Linked DNA regions of Homo sapiens: region 2 is linked to region 1. Evidence: promoter capture Hi-C in 16 types of primary human blood cells and fetal thymus (Javierre and others, 2016). All regions are on one chromosome and are shown on one strand. Each heading gives the region's core, a stretch centred on a gene start or on the middle of the fragment in contact. The rest is flanking DNA. Distances are from core to core; before and after follow the strand shown.

Region 1 (6,782 bases), core at 3,043-5,542:
GGCTTCATCTCATAGTCCACCACAGTGGAATAATGCATTTTTCACATTTTTTCCCTTTGCTTCAATGACACTAACCTCTCCTTCTTCTAGTTCTATGTCTACCTTCTAACCTCAGGCTCTTCTTCCTCATTCTATCCTTAAATCTTCTCCTTCTTGTTCTTTTCCAAGTATCTCTCTTCTAGGCACTCACTAGGTAAGCTTAGTTACTCTCCTTGTTGACCCACCACCTCTAGATGGGTGATTTCTAAGTTTATTGCTCTCTCCTAACTTTGAAGCCCATATTTTTAACAGTTCCACTTGGTGTCCTACTAATACTTTAACATGTCTAAAATCAAAGTCATCCTACCACATAAACTTGCTCCTCTCTAACCTCACCGATTCATATATTAAAACAACAAATATCTATTGAGTGATAGTTTATATGTCATGGTGCTAAGCTTAGATCCTACCCAAAAGCAGCTGAGAGTCTAGAACAGTCAACAAGACTAGTATCTTTGTTCAATACCTTTATTATAGCACTTATTTTTGTTGTGGTGGGCTAATCAAGATAAGTTAAAGATAATAGTAGAAAATAAGACTGGAATGGATTATTGAGATCAGAATATCGACCTTATTCTGACCTCAAGAACTGAATTCTTATTTTAATTATAGGCTTAATTCTATCAACTTAATTCTGTATAAAATGGGGAGCTCCAAGAAGTTTTTGAGCAGTAGAATCTCTACATTCCATTTTCAGAGGCTGAATCTGCCTAGAATGCATAAAATGAATTTAAATGGAGAAGTATTAGAAAACAGGTCACACAGATCTATGGAAGAGATTATCTTAATCTGAACCCATATAGTGAGAGAGTTAAACTCAAGGCTTTTCACAGCCCGGCTTTGATCAGCCTATAGAATTTTGTCTCAGAATACAATACTTTTAGGCTTATCAGGTTTCAGCACACTGGACACTAACCATCACTGAATATATGCCCCATCCTGCCCAAACTGTTTTTTCAAGGCCTAGCTCAAAAACTTTTGGGAAATAATTTTCCAATTTCCCTCAGCCAAAATGAACTGTTCTACAGCATTTTATTTGTAATTTACTGATGCCATTTAATCATTCTCCTGCCAAGCTGTAAACTCTTTGCAGTAAAGGATTATGCATTATTCACTCTGGTTTTCCTCAAACTTGGCACACTTCCTGACATATATGAAGCATCTTATTTAATGTTGGGTTATATTGGCACAGTGGAAAGTGCACTGGCTTTTGGAATTAGACTTAAGGACTGAATCATTCACTAGCTACATTATTTTAAGCAAGTATTTAACTTTTCTTAAGTTTAATTACCTATAAAATTCCCTACTTCTTGCAAATTATTGTGAAACTTTGAGGTCAATTGTAAAAATCACCTATAAAAAGCACCTAGCAAAGTATATGGTACATGGTGGGTATTTAATAAATGGTAACTGTAATTAAGGCCCTAGGAATTTTTTTTTTTAGTCTCAAGTGAAACAGCAGATTTTTTGTACACAGCATAATCTTCAAAGCCTTTATTTCCTCTTCAGTTTTAACTATGGTCAATCATGACTATCCCTGGTTGAGAGCACGTACTCGACAAACATCTGTGACTGCCCACTACATGCTAAATGTTGGGAAAATTTAAAAAAATGTAAAGTTCTCAGTGACAGGGCCTCCTCTCCTTGTCTTTACTACCCAAGAAAGAAGAACATTGCTGAGTTTCTAGGCCTCATATAAGATACCACTCTGGTACTATATAATTTCATCCTTCCTATATTAATTCAGAAACATTTATTAACTACCGTGTGGCAGGCATTGCGCCAGAAACAAAAATGCAGATGCAACAGTCCCAATTCTGAAGGAGGTATTTCATTGTTTCACTCATGATAGTGTATCTTTGTTTTTACAATACAAGAAAGAGGAGCATTACTGAGTTTCTGTGGCATATATGCATTCTATTACACTGTATAATTTCATCCTTACCTATAGCCTTCTGTATATGAAACTGAGTAAAATCTGATAAAATGTCCCAGTCTTTAGTATTTCCTATGTTACTTTTTCGTTTGTGATCTTGTTTCACAGTAACTTGAAGATTTACCATCCAGGTGCCAACAATTCTGGTGAAGAAATAAAAGACATGTTGCTAGCTCATTAAAGTTTTCTGGACTTTCACCAACTAGTAAAATTAAAATTATATAGTAACTACTATTCTTATTGACAATCCTTTCTTATTTCAGAAATCTTTTAGCAGTCTAAAGTACCTATTCAGCCATCTTATTTGTTTTGGTAATATAGCTAATAGTTCTAAATCACCATTTGTCAAACCCATTAGAGGTGAACTGTAGTCGAAACTGCAAAACTCTGTAACTTAAATGTAATTTCATTGTAACTAATAGAACCTAAGTAGAATTATGTAGTAGTGAAAATATTTTAATTCTAGCAAAAAGCAATCAACCACTTCCTAAAACAATGTTTCTTTTTTTTCTCTTGGGTTTACTCTCCTCCTCCTTTATGATTTATTCTTACCACAGAACCATTAAGATGTTCTTTGTTTGGTTATACTTATAAAATGTAACCCTGACATCTCTTTTTCTATTATAGTACTTACTATTATGCTATTTTTCTGCTTCCAAAATAAGGGAGAATTTGAATCTATGACTGCATAAATTTAAAAACTACCTTCCACTGGTCACAGTTCAGTGAGGATCTGAAATCTAGGTAAGTAATATTTGTACACAGGCAGTGAAACTAGAGCAATTGCTGAGTTCAAAAGCTAATAGCTAAGCATTGTTTCACAGACTGCTCTCAGTTCTGAAACAGCAGATATGTATTATCCATACCACTTATTATTTATTTATTTATTTATTTAGAGACCGAGTCTCGTTCTGTCACCCAGGCTGGAGTGCAGTGGCGCCATCTTGGGTCGCTGAAACCTCCGCCTCCCGGGTTCAAGCGATTCTCCTGCCTCAGCCTCCCGAGTAGCTGGGATTAGAGGCATGTGCCATCATGCCAGGCTAATTTTTGTATTTTTAGTAGAGACGTGGTTTCACCATGTTGATCAGGCTGGTCTCGAACTCCTGACCTCGTGATCCACCCGCCTCAGCCTCCCAAAATGCTGGGGATTACAGGCCTGAGCCATGGCGCCAGGCCTAATTTTTGCTTAAAAAAAAAAAAAATCACATTTGTATTCAAGGTGAGAAAGCTTCAGAATTATTAAGGACAAGGATTCTGACAGAAAGTTAAGTTCAGACCTGGTTACAAATTCAGACACCTTAATAAAGTAGGAGATAGTCTTCAGTATCTGAACAATAAATAGCTTTAAATGCAGGGCTTTTTGAGTAGAGGAGTGATCACTTGAATCTGGAGAGAGGGCGAGAAATGGGGAGGGATTGCTAACGGGCATTGGGGTTCCTTTTGGAGTGGTGAAACTTCTTGGAATCAGAGGTGACAGCTGCACACGATTGTGAATGTACTAAGTGACAGTGGATTGTACACTTTTTAAAAAATGGTTAATTTTATATGTGAATTTAACCTCAATAATTACTTTTTTTAAAAAAGAAAAAAAATAGAGGCTTTTGTGGCAGGGATGGACTTTGCTTGGTGAAGGCCCCTACTGTAACGGTGCCCAGACATCCACAGCGAGGTCAGTGAGGAGCACTCCCACCTCACACAAAGCCATATGAAAACTTAACAGATTTCCCTCAGCTAAATCCCCGTTTTCAACAACCGCCAATTAGCCAACATTTAACAACATACTGAACTCATTTCTGTATGGGAAAACAGCGAAATATTCATGAAAACATTTAGAAAGCAGCATCACCGACCACCTAGAAATCCCCTGCGCGCAATAGAGAACACCAGGGTGGAAATGGTAGAAGCCATTTTTGGTTAAGGTTTTTGTCCTGGGTGGAGGGTATTCGTGAGGATTCAGTCAGCCTCAAACATTACATTTAAACATAGGTGCCTAGCTACGATGATACATTTGCCAGTAGGGCAGCGTTGCACGGTGAAAGGCAAAAACCCCTCTAAGCCTCCTCCTGTGGCGACAAAGCTCTCGGCCAACGCTCACCGCCATACACATCCGCGGGAACGCTTCCTCCACCAGCCGAAGGCGGGGCCTCTGAGGGCACTCCCGCCACACAGCGCGAATTGAGCCTCGGGGCTTCCTGGGAATTGTAGTTTTAGTCACGGACACATCTTTTTTATTCGGGCCAGTATGCAATGAATCAGAAAACTACAACTCCCAAAGTGCCCCGGGGCGGCGAGGGGCCGCAACGGTGACGACTGTGGCAGAGAAGGCCCGGAGGGGCTCTGCGTTCTGTAGTGGCGCTGCTTGGGCCCTTGGCGGATTGTAAGCTGCTGGTTTTGCGGCTGGGAAGAGCGGCGAGAGGGTTCGGCATTTTTCGTCGGGATCCCCGCAAGGATGAGTGCTGCCAGAGAGTCTCACCCGCATGGGGTGAAGCGTTCAGCCTCCCCAGACGACGATGTAAATAATAATGGCGGAGTGGCTGAGGGTTGAGGCCTACTAAAGCCTGGAGTAGGCCGGGAAGGGTGGTTGGAGGAGGACGCGCCTGAGGTGGCCTGCAGCGGGAGAGCCCAGGGAAGAAACCAGAAGAATGAGTGGGAAATGCCTCCCTTAATCTTTATGAGGGTCAGAAGGTTTGAAGAGGCCCACACGCTGAGAGCCGGAGACCTGCGTAGGAAGGGGGATTGAGGAAGGAAATTCTGAGAGGGTCGAGGAGTGAAAGAGCTTAGTCAAGGGATTTCGTACGTGCGTTTTGGGGGGCCGATGAGAGTGCTTTCTCGGGCCTTTGTACTCAGTATAGAGACGGCAAGACTCTCCCTGTTTTGGGTTCTAAATGTTCCCGTGACAATGTCGAAATGTTCGTGCACGTTTGTACAGATTTTTCCTGCCTGGATGATTTTTACAATGTGCTGTTGAGAGTTAACTTTAGCTGCACTAGTAAGGGTAAACCGAGAACAGTATTGAGCCGAAAATTGTGCCACGGGTGTAATTTGGTACTGGCTCTGGTGGTGAGGTCTAAGACGTTGAGACCTAGAAGCCCATTTTGATGTCGGATATTAATACCTCGTTCTTCTTACCTCGTCTCCCCATCAAATGCCGTTCCCTTCCTCAGCCCTCACCTCATAGGTTTTAATAGCAAACGGTTTATCCCTTAAAGTAACCCGTTAAATATTTACTGCACTGCCGGGTGTTGGGAATTCGGAGAGAAATATGATGCTTATTTTAGGCCTTTTTGTATATTTGTCCTAGCTCCTAGCCCAGTGTCATGGAAACGGTAGGTAACCAGTAAACGTAAAACTAGGTCCTTCATACAATGGATAAGTGTCTTGGCAACGTTGATGGGGAAAATTGTTGGAGAGAGCGCGGAGAGGTCATCTTTAAGGAAGATGAAGGGATATCTAGGTTTTTTTTCGGTTTTGTTTAAAGTACTGTCAATTTCTGAATACATAGAGCTTTAAATTTTTCGATAGTGCATTTCAACGCTCTTCATAAAATTTTAAAAGCCCACTGAATACTACTTTGTAGCAAATGAGATAATGTTAAGACCTACCCCTCTGATGGGAGGTGGGGCGAGGACCGGAATATTAAGGATCTTTAAAGGAATCGACTTCAGCTCTGCAGAAAGATTAGCAATCAGTAAAGATTTGGGGATGAATGGGCACCTAGAGAAGTTTATTCTTGCTCTCTGTTATTTCTGCTACTGGATTTTAGATCTTGTTAATATGGTAATTCAGGTTTTGTCAGGAATTGATCCACACTTTTGAGTAACCTGGCTGCCACTTAAAAAGCTGTTACATTGTTTTCCTCCTGATCTTTAAATGTGACTTGATTGCTAGGATATCAGACACCTGTTTGGAAATATCTTTTAGCGTGACAGAAAACTCCAGGTGATATGAAATTTAACAAAGTTAAAGGGATTAAGTCATTAAGTTTACAGCTTCGGAAGAGGTCGGTTTAAACTAGACGACCTTGAAGACCTTTCCCAATCATATAAGCGTATCTTTAAGTACCTGGGTTTTGTTTTTGTTTTGAGACAGGTGAGACAGGGTCTCTGTCGCCCAGGCTGGAGTGCAGTGGCACGATCGATCAGTGCTCCCTGCAGCCTCCACCTCCCTGGCTCAGGTGATCCTCCTGCTTCAACCCCCTCTTCCCCCACCACCACTACAGTAGCTCGGACTACAGGTGTGCACCATTACACCCGACTAATTTTTTGTATTTTTAGTAGAGACCAGATTTTGCCACATTGCCCAGGCTGGTCTCCAACTACTAGACCCAAGCGATCTGCCCACCTCGGCCTCCCAAAGTGCTGGAATTACAGGTGTGAGCCACCTCGCCCAGCCAGTACTTAAAAAAAAAATTTTTTTAACCATAAGTAATGCATTCATTAAAATACCTCCAAGCTGTTGCAGAAAAAAAAAAAAAAACTAGCAGGCCGGGCGCGGTGGCTCACTCCTGTAATCCCAACACTTTGGGAGGCCAAGGCAGGCGGATCACGAGGTCAGGAGATCCAAACCATCCTGGCTAACACAGTGAAACCCCGCCTCTACTAAAAAAATACAAAAAAATTAACCGGGCGTGGTAGCGGGCGCCTGTAGTCCCAGCTACTAGGGAGGCTGAGGCAGGAGAATGGCGTGAACCCGGGAGGCGGAGCTTGCAGTGAGCCAAGATGGCGCCACTGCACTCCAGCCTGGGCGACAGAGCGAGACTCTGTTTAAAAAAAAAAAAAAAAAAATCTAGTTATAATATATAGTTGGG
Region 2 (6,782 bases), core at 3,188-5,687, about 11 Mb before region 1:
AAGAATAAAGGATTGATCAGGCTATTTGAAGAGAAACCTTATCATACCCCACATTCCTATTCTGTCATTTTGATTTTTCCATTTTGCCAACGTGGATCAGAATTTTCTTTTATTCAGAGGCAGCAAATTCCTTCCTCCTTTCTCCCGAAGAAGCCTGTGCAATGAAGCTTTGTTTTCACTTTTCATAAAGCAACCTCATGATGAGGTTCAGCAGGGATGAGAGCCCTTATCTGGATCTGGGTATGAGGCGAAGGAGTCTTAGGTACTCAGTCTTCAGAAGTAAGGCCCTTTTGAAGGTTATCCTTTTACTTGCCTTCTGGTAACTTTTTGGATGCTGTCCATAGCTTTCCTGATAAATTAGCAGCCCTCTGGTTAGTCCGAGGAGAGAGGCCGCAGGACGGGCAGACTGCTGCTCATCTCTGCAGCTCCACTTTGGTCTCTTGTCTCTGAAGGTCCAGTCACAGGGAACTTGTTCTTCTGAGTACCCACAGCTTACTCTTCCTTTGTAGCAGGACCAGCCACAGAAAAAACTCCTCAGACACCGAGGTAAAGAAGGAAGGGGTTTATTCGGCCAGGGGCATAGGCAAGACTCCTGTCTCAAGAGCCGAGCTCCTCGAGTGAGCAATTCCTGTCCCTTTTAAGGGCTCACAACTCTAAGGGGGTCCGCGTGAGAGGGTCGTGATCGATTGAGCAAGCAGGGGGTACGTGACTGGGGGCTGCATACACCGGTAATTAGATCGGAACAAAACAGAGTAGGGATTTTCACAGTGCTTTTCTATACAATGTCTGGAATCTATAGATAACAAACCAATTAGGTCAGGGGTCCATCTTTAACTACCAGGTCCAGGGTGTGGCCCCGGGCTGTCTGCTTGTGGATTTCATTTCTGCCTTTTAGTTTTTACTTTTTCTTTCTTTGGAGGCAGAAATTGGGCATAAGACAATATGAGAGGTGGTCTCCTCCCTCAACTTCTGTAGCACCCAATGAACCTCTGGTATCCACTCCTGTTTTAGAAGTTGCTATTATTCTAGGTACACCTTTTCATCATGAGTTACCTCAACTCCCTACTCAATTTTCCCTTGCACAGAGCTAAGGCAAGGAGTTGGTAATTTCTCCTGAGTCTTATCTCGATCTTATCGCTGAGCATTTTGTACCTTGATGCCTATGTCACCCATATTCTGATGTGTCCTTTTCTTTGTTTCACTTTTCAGAGGTCCAGGTAACTGTCTCCTTATGTGTCTGTACCGCACATCTTGTCAAGGTCCATATCTAGTATTTATTCATTGTCAAGTCTAGTACAGGACCCAATAAATAAAACTGTACTTTTAATTTTTGAAAAATATTTTTGACTAAATTCACAAAACAAAAGCATACAGGTATAGTAAAAAAACAAAAACAAAAACAAAAAAACTATCTATTCGATATATAATCAACATTAAATACCGGTAAGAGATTATGCTCTGGACTAGGGAAAAGGAAGTAAACACGCAGTCAAAAAAAGGAAGTAAACCAGCAGTTTTAATGTAGCAAAAAGGTAGCAGTTACTAGAGGATAAATGTAAAACCAATAAAACAAAAGCAACAAACTAAAAGGGCTGCAATAGGATGTGGTATCTGTAGTGCTCTTGTCAAGGGCTTTGCAACTTTAAATAGATTTCACATTAGGTCTCACTGTGAGACAATGATTTTGAGCAGTCTTCAATAAAATGATGGATTTAAGAACTGATGAACTAACTGTGAGAGAAAGAGATGACACTGGGGTAGCTTTATGAAATCTGTCCTCTGTTACAAAATGACTTATCTGAAACATATTGACCAGAGAGTTAGAACTCTTGGAAAAAGGGTCATTACTTGGGGAAAACTAAACCCTGGACATTTTAGTGGGTCATTGAAAAAGGAACTCTGAGTTTAGACAAATAAGAAGTGGTAACGGTGTTTCTGAGTTCTCCAGGTTTCTGCATGCCAAGAACAGGACCTATTTTCTCCATTGGTAGTTCCTGACCCAAGGAACAGGGGAAATTTAAAAGATGTTGGCTAGGCCAGGCACCTGGTGGCTTGTGCCAAAGCCTAGCCAAAAATCCCAGCACTTTGGGAAGCCAAGACTGGAGGACTGCTTGAGTTGAGGAGTTTGAGACCAGCCTGGGCAACGCAGTGAGACCTTGTCTCAAAAAAAAAAAAAAAAGATATTGATGGCTAAACCCCTTATAATTTTTCTCCTTATTGTGTAGCCACACTAATTTAATTTAATCTTTTTTTTTTTTTTTCTTTTGACGGAGTCTTGCTCTGTTGCCAGGCTGGAGTGCAGTGGTGTGATCTCAGCTCACTGCAACCTCCGCCTCCTGGGTTCAAGTGATTCTCCTGCCTCAGCCTCCAGAGTAGCGGGGACTACAAGCAACTGCTGTCACACCTGGCTAATGTTTGTATATATATATATTTTTTAGTAGATACGGGGTCTCACCATAGTGGCCAGGCTGGCCTCAAACTCCTGACCTCAGGTAATCTGCCCGCCTCGGCCCCCCAAACTGCTGGGATTACAGGCTTGAGCCACAGCGCCTGGCCATCTTTTTTTTTTTTTTTTTTTTGATTTAAATTGCACAGATAAAGAAAGCTTCTGTGCAGGTAATCAGAGTATTCTGAAACAAGGAAGCTACGGACCTAGTTAGCCTTCACCGTGTCATAGAAACTTCTACATTCGCACCACCTTCAAAGGGGAGCATGCATTTTGTTTATGTGTCTGTCTGTCTACCTGTCTTAGGTCGGAAGGGTTTCAATGGGGCTACATTTCTTCAATGTTAGAATAAAGAATGAATAGGCCGGGCGCGGTGGCTCACGCCAGTAATCCCAGCACTTTGGGAGGCCGAGGCGGGCAGATCATGAGGTCCGGAGATCGAGACCATCCTGGCTAACACAGTGAAACCCCGTCTCTACTAAAAAGACACCAAAAAATCACCCGGGTGTGGTGGCGGGCGCCTGTAGTCCCAGCTACTTGGAGGCTGAGGCAGGAGAATGGCGTGAACCCGAGAGGCGGAGCTGGCAAGGAGCCGAGATCGCACCACTGCACTCCAGCCTGGGTGACAGAGTGAGACTCCGTCTCAAAAAAAAAAAAAAAAAAAAAAGAATGAATAAATCAAGAAAAATAAGCACTTGTATTAGTTTTCTAGAGCTGTCATAGAAAAAGTACCAAAAGTGGTTGGCTTAAATAGCAGAAATATATTGCCTTACAATTCTGGAGGCTAGTTATCCAAGATAAAATGTGTTGACAGGGCTGGTTCCTTCTGAAGGCTATGAAGGAGGCCTCTGGTCCATGCCTCTCTTCTAGCTTCTAATAGTTTCCTGGAAACCTTTAGCATTCCTTGGCTTATAGGTGCATCACCCTGATCTCTGCTTTCTTCTTCACCCTGGCATATTCCTTGTGTATAAATGTCCCTTTTTGATAAGGACACAGTCATGTTGGATAAGGGTCTACCCTAATGAGCACATGGTAACTAAATAGTATTTAAATATACTAGTTTCAAATAAGAGCACATTCACACATTAGGATTTCAACATCATTTGGGGAGAAACAGGACAGACTTTATCTCTCTGCTACATATTCTCAATGTACTTGGCCTCCTTTATGGATTGAGACTTTTCTCCCATGACCAACAGATGTTTCTTTGAAATGTATATTGAGTCTATATCATGTGTGTGATCCTATAACTATTTTAGCCTCTTTTCCTCTTCCCAAAATATATACATCTTTAGGTTCCTATCACCATCCTTGCCATATGTCCAGGCCAAGGTGAAATTTCAACATTTAAAACCACAGCATGCCCCAGAACTACATAGCTGGTCTGGATCTCTCCATTTCTATACCCCCAATAGCACTGGGTATCAGTATAGCTCTTGTAGCCTTTACCTTTGTTGTCTGTATAAATCTGTGCTGCAGTGGAGAGAACTCTGAAGGAGGACCTTGGGGACAATACATTCACTCTTACTCTACCTATTAGATTAGAATGAGTGATCTTTGTAAGTCACTTGATTCTATTGACACACCTGAAGAAAGGGAGTATTCTTATTTCTCAAGGGTTTTGTATGAAGAATAAAGAAGTCAAAATGATTTCTAAATTGTAACTGCTTATAAAATTGTTCATGATAAAATTATTTTCCTATTATGGTGTTGGTGGTGGTGGTGTGTGGGTGTGTGTGTATGTCTTTGGGGATGGAGTGTGAGGTCATGGGAGGACTTGCTATGGGTAGATGTGTTAGGATGTAAACACTTCTTCACTGGAAACCATAATTGTGGTCCCAAAGGTCAGCTATTGGGAAACTGCTAATTGATGGAAAGAAAAGATGAAAATCTGATTAAAAGGTCTAATCATCTATGGAGGGATAAGGAAGTTGTGGCTTTATATATTCGTTAAATGTTTTATTCCTGTATGTGATTCACTTTTCTAGGTATAGAGGACATATCAGTGAACAAAAAAAGTCCCAGGTCTATGAATGGATTACTTTTCAGGAGGAAGAAGTAGACATTTAAAGAACAATCTTATATATTACATAGTAAAAATAAGAAGCTAAATGTGCAGTGAGTGACAGTACTGGTGGTTTTGCTATAAGTAAATTATAGTATGTCCTTCTAAGAAGAGGACTTCTAAGAGGAGACTGAATTAAATGTAAGAGTGAGTCTTGCTAACATCAGGGGGAGGATCATTTTATGCAGAGAGAGGAGCAAGTGCAAAAGCCTTGAGGAGCCATAGATTTGATAGTTTAATTGAGGAGGTATTTTTTACATGGGGAAAAAAGTCAGAGGAGATAAACCTTAACAGTATAAGTAAAATAATTCAGACACCAAAGACATATATTATGATTCTATTTTTATCAACTGATTAAAAACCCAAAGGATATTAGTAGTGGTTGCCTGGAGCTTGGGATCAGAATAGGAGTGATGGCATTAGGGTTTTTTTTTTTCAGGTGATAAAAATAATTTTAAATTGGGTTACAGTAATAGTTATATAGTTCCACAGATTTACTAGAAATTATTGCATGATACACTTAAAAATGATGTTTGATGCAGTGTTTGATGCTATGTAAATACAATTCAATAGCTTAAAAATATGCAAATATTCATGAATCATGCAAATATTGGGGATACAATCATGCCATTCAGAGAGAAAAGCCTGTGTGCAAGCCCAGGGGCAGGGGTGTGTTTAGTGCATTTAACATGGAAAATGTGTTTTGGGTTGGGGAACAAAAGGCAGGACAAATGATGGGTTACACGAAGCTCTTGGTAGAAGAGCCTCAGTTTGTCCTCTCCAGTAGAAGAGAAAATAACAATAATTGCCTTGATGGGGTGAAATTTGTCCTGAGACAAAAATTAAGAATAAAGTGTTTGAAATTACTACAAAGTCCATTTTATTCTGTCATTGGTTTATTCTTCATGCCTTTCTTTTCTCCTTTCTCTGTTAAATATTAATGTTTTGTCCTGTTCTAAATCTCTGTAAAAGCAGTATTCTTTCTATTCCTTCTTTTCTTACCCTGTCCCCTTCAACATTCTCAGCACTGCAGGAGTTTGTGACCAAGAACTTCAAGAGTCAAGACAGAAGGAAGCCAAGGGAGCAGTGCAATGGATTTCTCAGTAAAGGTAGACATAGAGAAGGAGGTGACCTGCCCCATCTGCCTGGAGCTCCTGACAGAACCTCTGAGCCTAGATTGTGGCCACAGCTTCTGCCAAGCCTGCATCACTGCAAAGATCAAGGAGTCAGTGATCATCTCAAGAGGGGAAAGCAGCTGTCCTGTGTGTCAGACCAGATTCCAGCCTGGGAACCTCCGACCTAATCGGCATCTGGCCAACATAGTTGAGAGAGTCAAAGAGGTCAAGATGAGCCCACAGGAGGGGCAGAAGAGAGATGTCTGTGAGCACCATGGAAAAAAACTCCAGATCTTCTGTAAGGAGGATGGAAAAGTCATTTGCTGGGTTTGTGAACTGTCTCAGGAACACCAAGGTCACCAAACATTCCGCATAAACGAGGTGGTCAAGGAATGTCAGGTAGGCTCCAAGATAGAGGAAGAGAGAGCAGAGAGCAGAAGATGGTACCTAATGTGAAATCTCCACTTTTTTTGTCCTGCTTTATTCCCCTTGTCACCATAGAACGGAGAGCCCTGTGATCTCTTTCCATACTCTTTGCTTAGTTTCTGATGCCTGAAGGACACTGCTGCACATTGTTTTATTTAAAAAAGAGTACAAATTTTTAGCAAGGAAAAGTTGAATGAATGGAGAATTGCTTTGTAAGATAAGCTTTCATTGCCCCTCCAAGAAGAACAGTATTTTTGGGAACACGTCTGGTTAGATGTGGGAAGAGTGGCAATGAAAGGACGTCTTTCCTTACTGCAGGGTCTGCTTTTTCTCTAGGAAAAGAATCAGGCTACTCTTGATAAGAGGATGGTGACTTCCATCATCCAGGAATAAAGAATACATTCATCTCCTCAGATTTTCCCCCATGCCATAGGTTCTAATCACCAGCCTCACTGTTTCTGTAAACTAGTTTCTTCTGAGAGCCATCCAATTTCTTCCTTGCTGTCCTCTATTCAGGTGCTGAGAAAGCTCATAACTTTACTCTGGTATAATTTATTTCTTACAGGAAAAGCTGCAGGTAGCCCTGCAGAGGCTGATAAAGGAGGATCAAGAGGCTGAGAAGCTGGAAGATGACATCAGACAAGAGAGAACCGCCTGGAAGGCAGGAGGAGACACCTCCTAAGGGATAATTAGACAGGAATCTGGGCAGGACCCTGGGCTCTATCACAAG

The links. Contacts are between HindIII fragments. The CHiCAGO score rates a contact against its expected background, and 5 or more counts as called.
Region 2: a contact is called between a fragment that was not itself captured here and the fragment with the promoter of C11orf58 in region 1, in 1 of 17 cell types (M0 macrophages). The highest score is 6.8, in M0 macrophages.

Annotation. Positions count from the first base shown.
Region 1 is chr11:16,734,355-16,741,136 of GRCh38, forward strand. C11orf58 (chromosome 11 open reading frame 58) reads left to right here and starts at 4,293. Exons shown (of 5, transcript NM_014267.6): 1 at 4,293-4,487. The coding sequence starts at 4,425. It also overlaps a transcript of SOX6 not described here. RefSeq lists an enhancer at 4,167-4,796. The HindIII fragment of the contact is 4,072 bases long and covers 3,202-6,782 here.
Region 2 is chr11:5,690,631-5,697,412 of GRCh38, forward strand. TRIM22 (tripartite motif containing 22) reads left to right here. Exons shown (of 8, transcript NM_006074.5): 2 at 5,537-6,025; 3 at 6,618-6,713. The coding sequence starts at 5,603. It overlaps LOC124902620 (a long non-coding RNA gene), which reads right to left and starts at 2,124. Exons shown (of 2, transcript XR_007062561.1): 1 at 48-2,124. RefSeq lists an enhancer at 1-464. The HindIII fragment of the contact is 3,669 bases long and covers 2,604-6,272 here.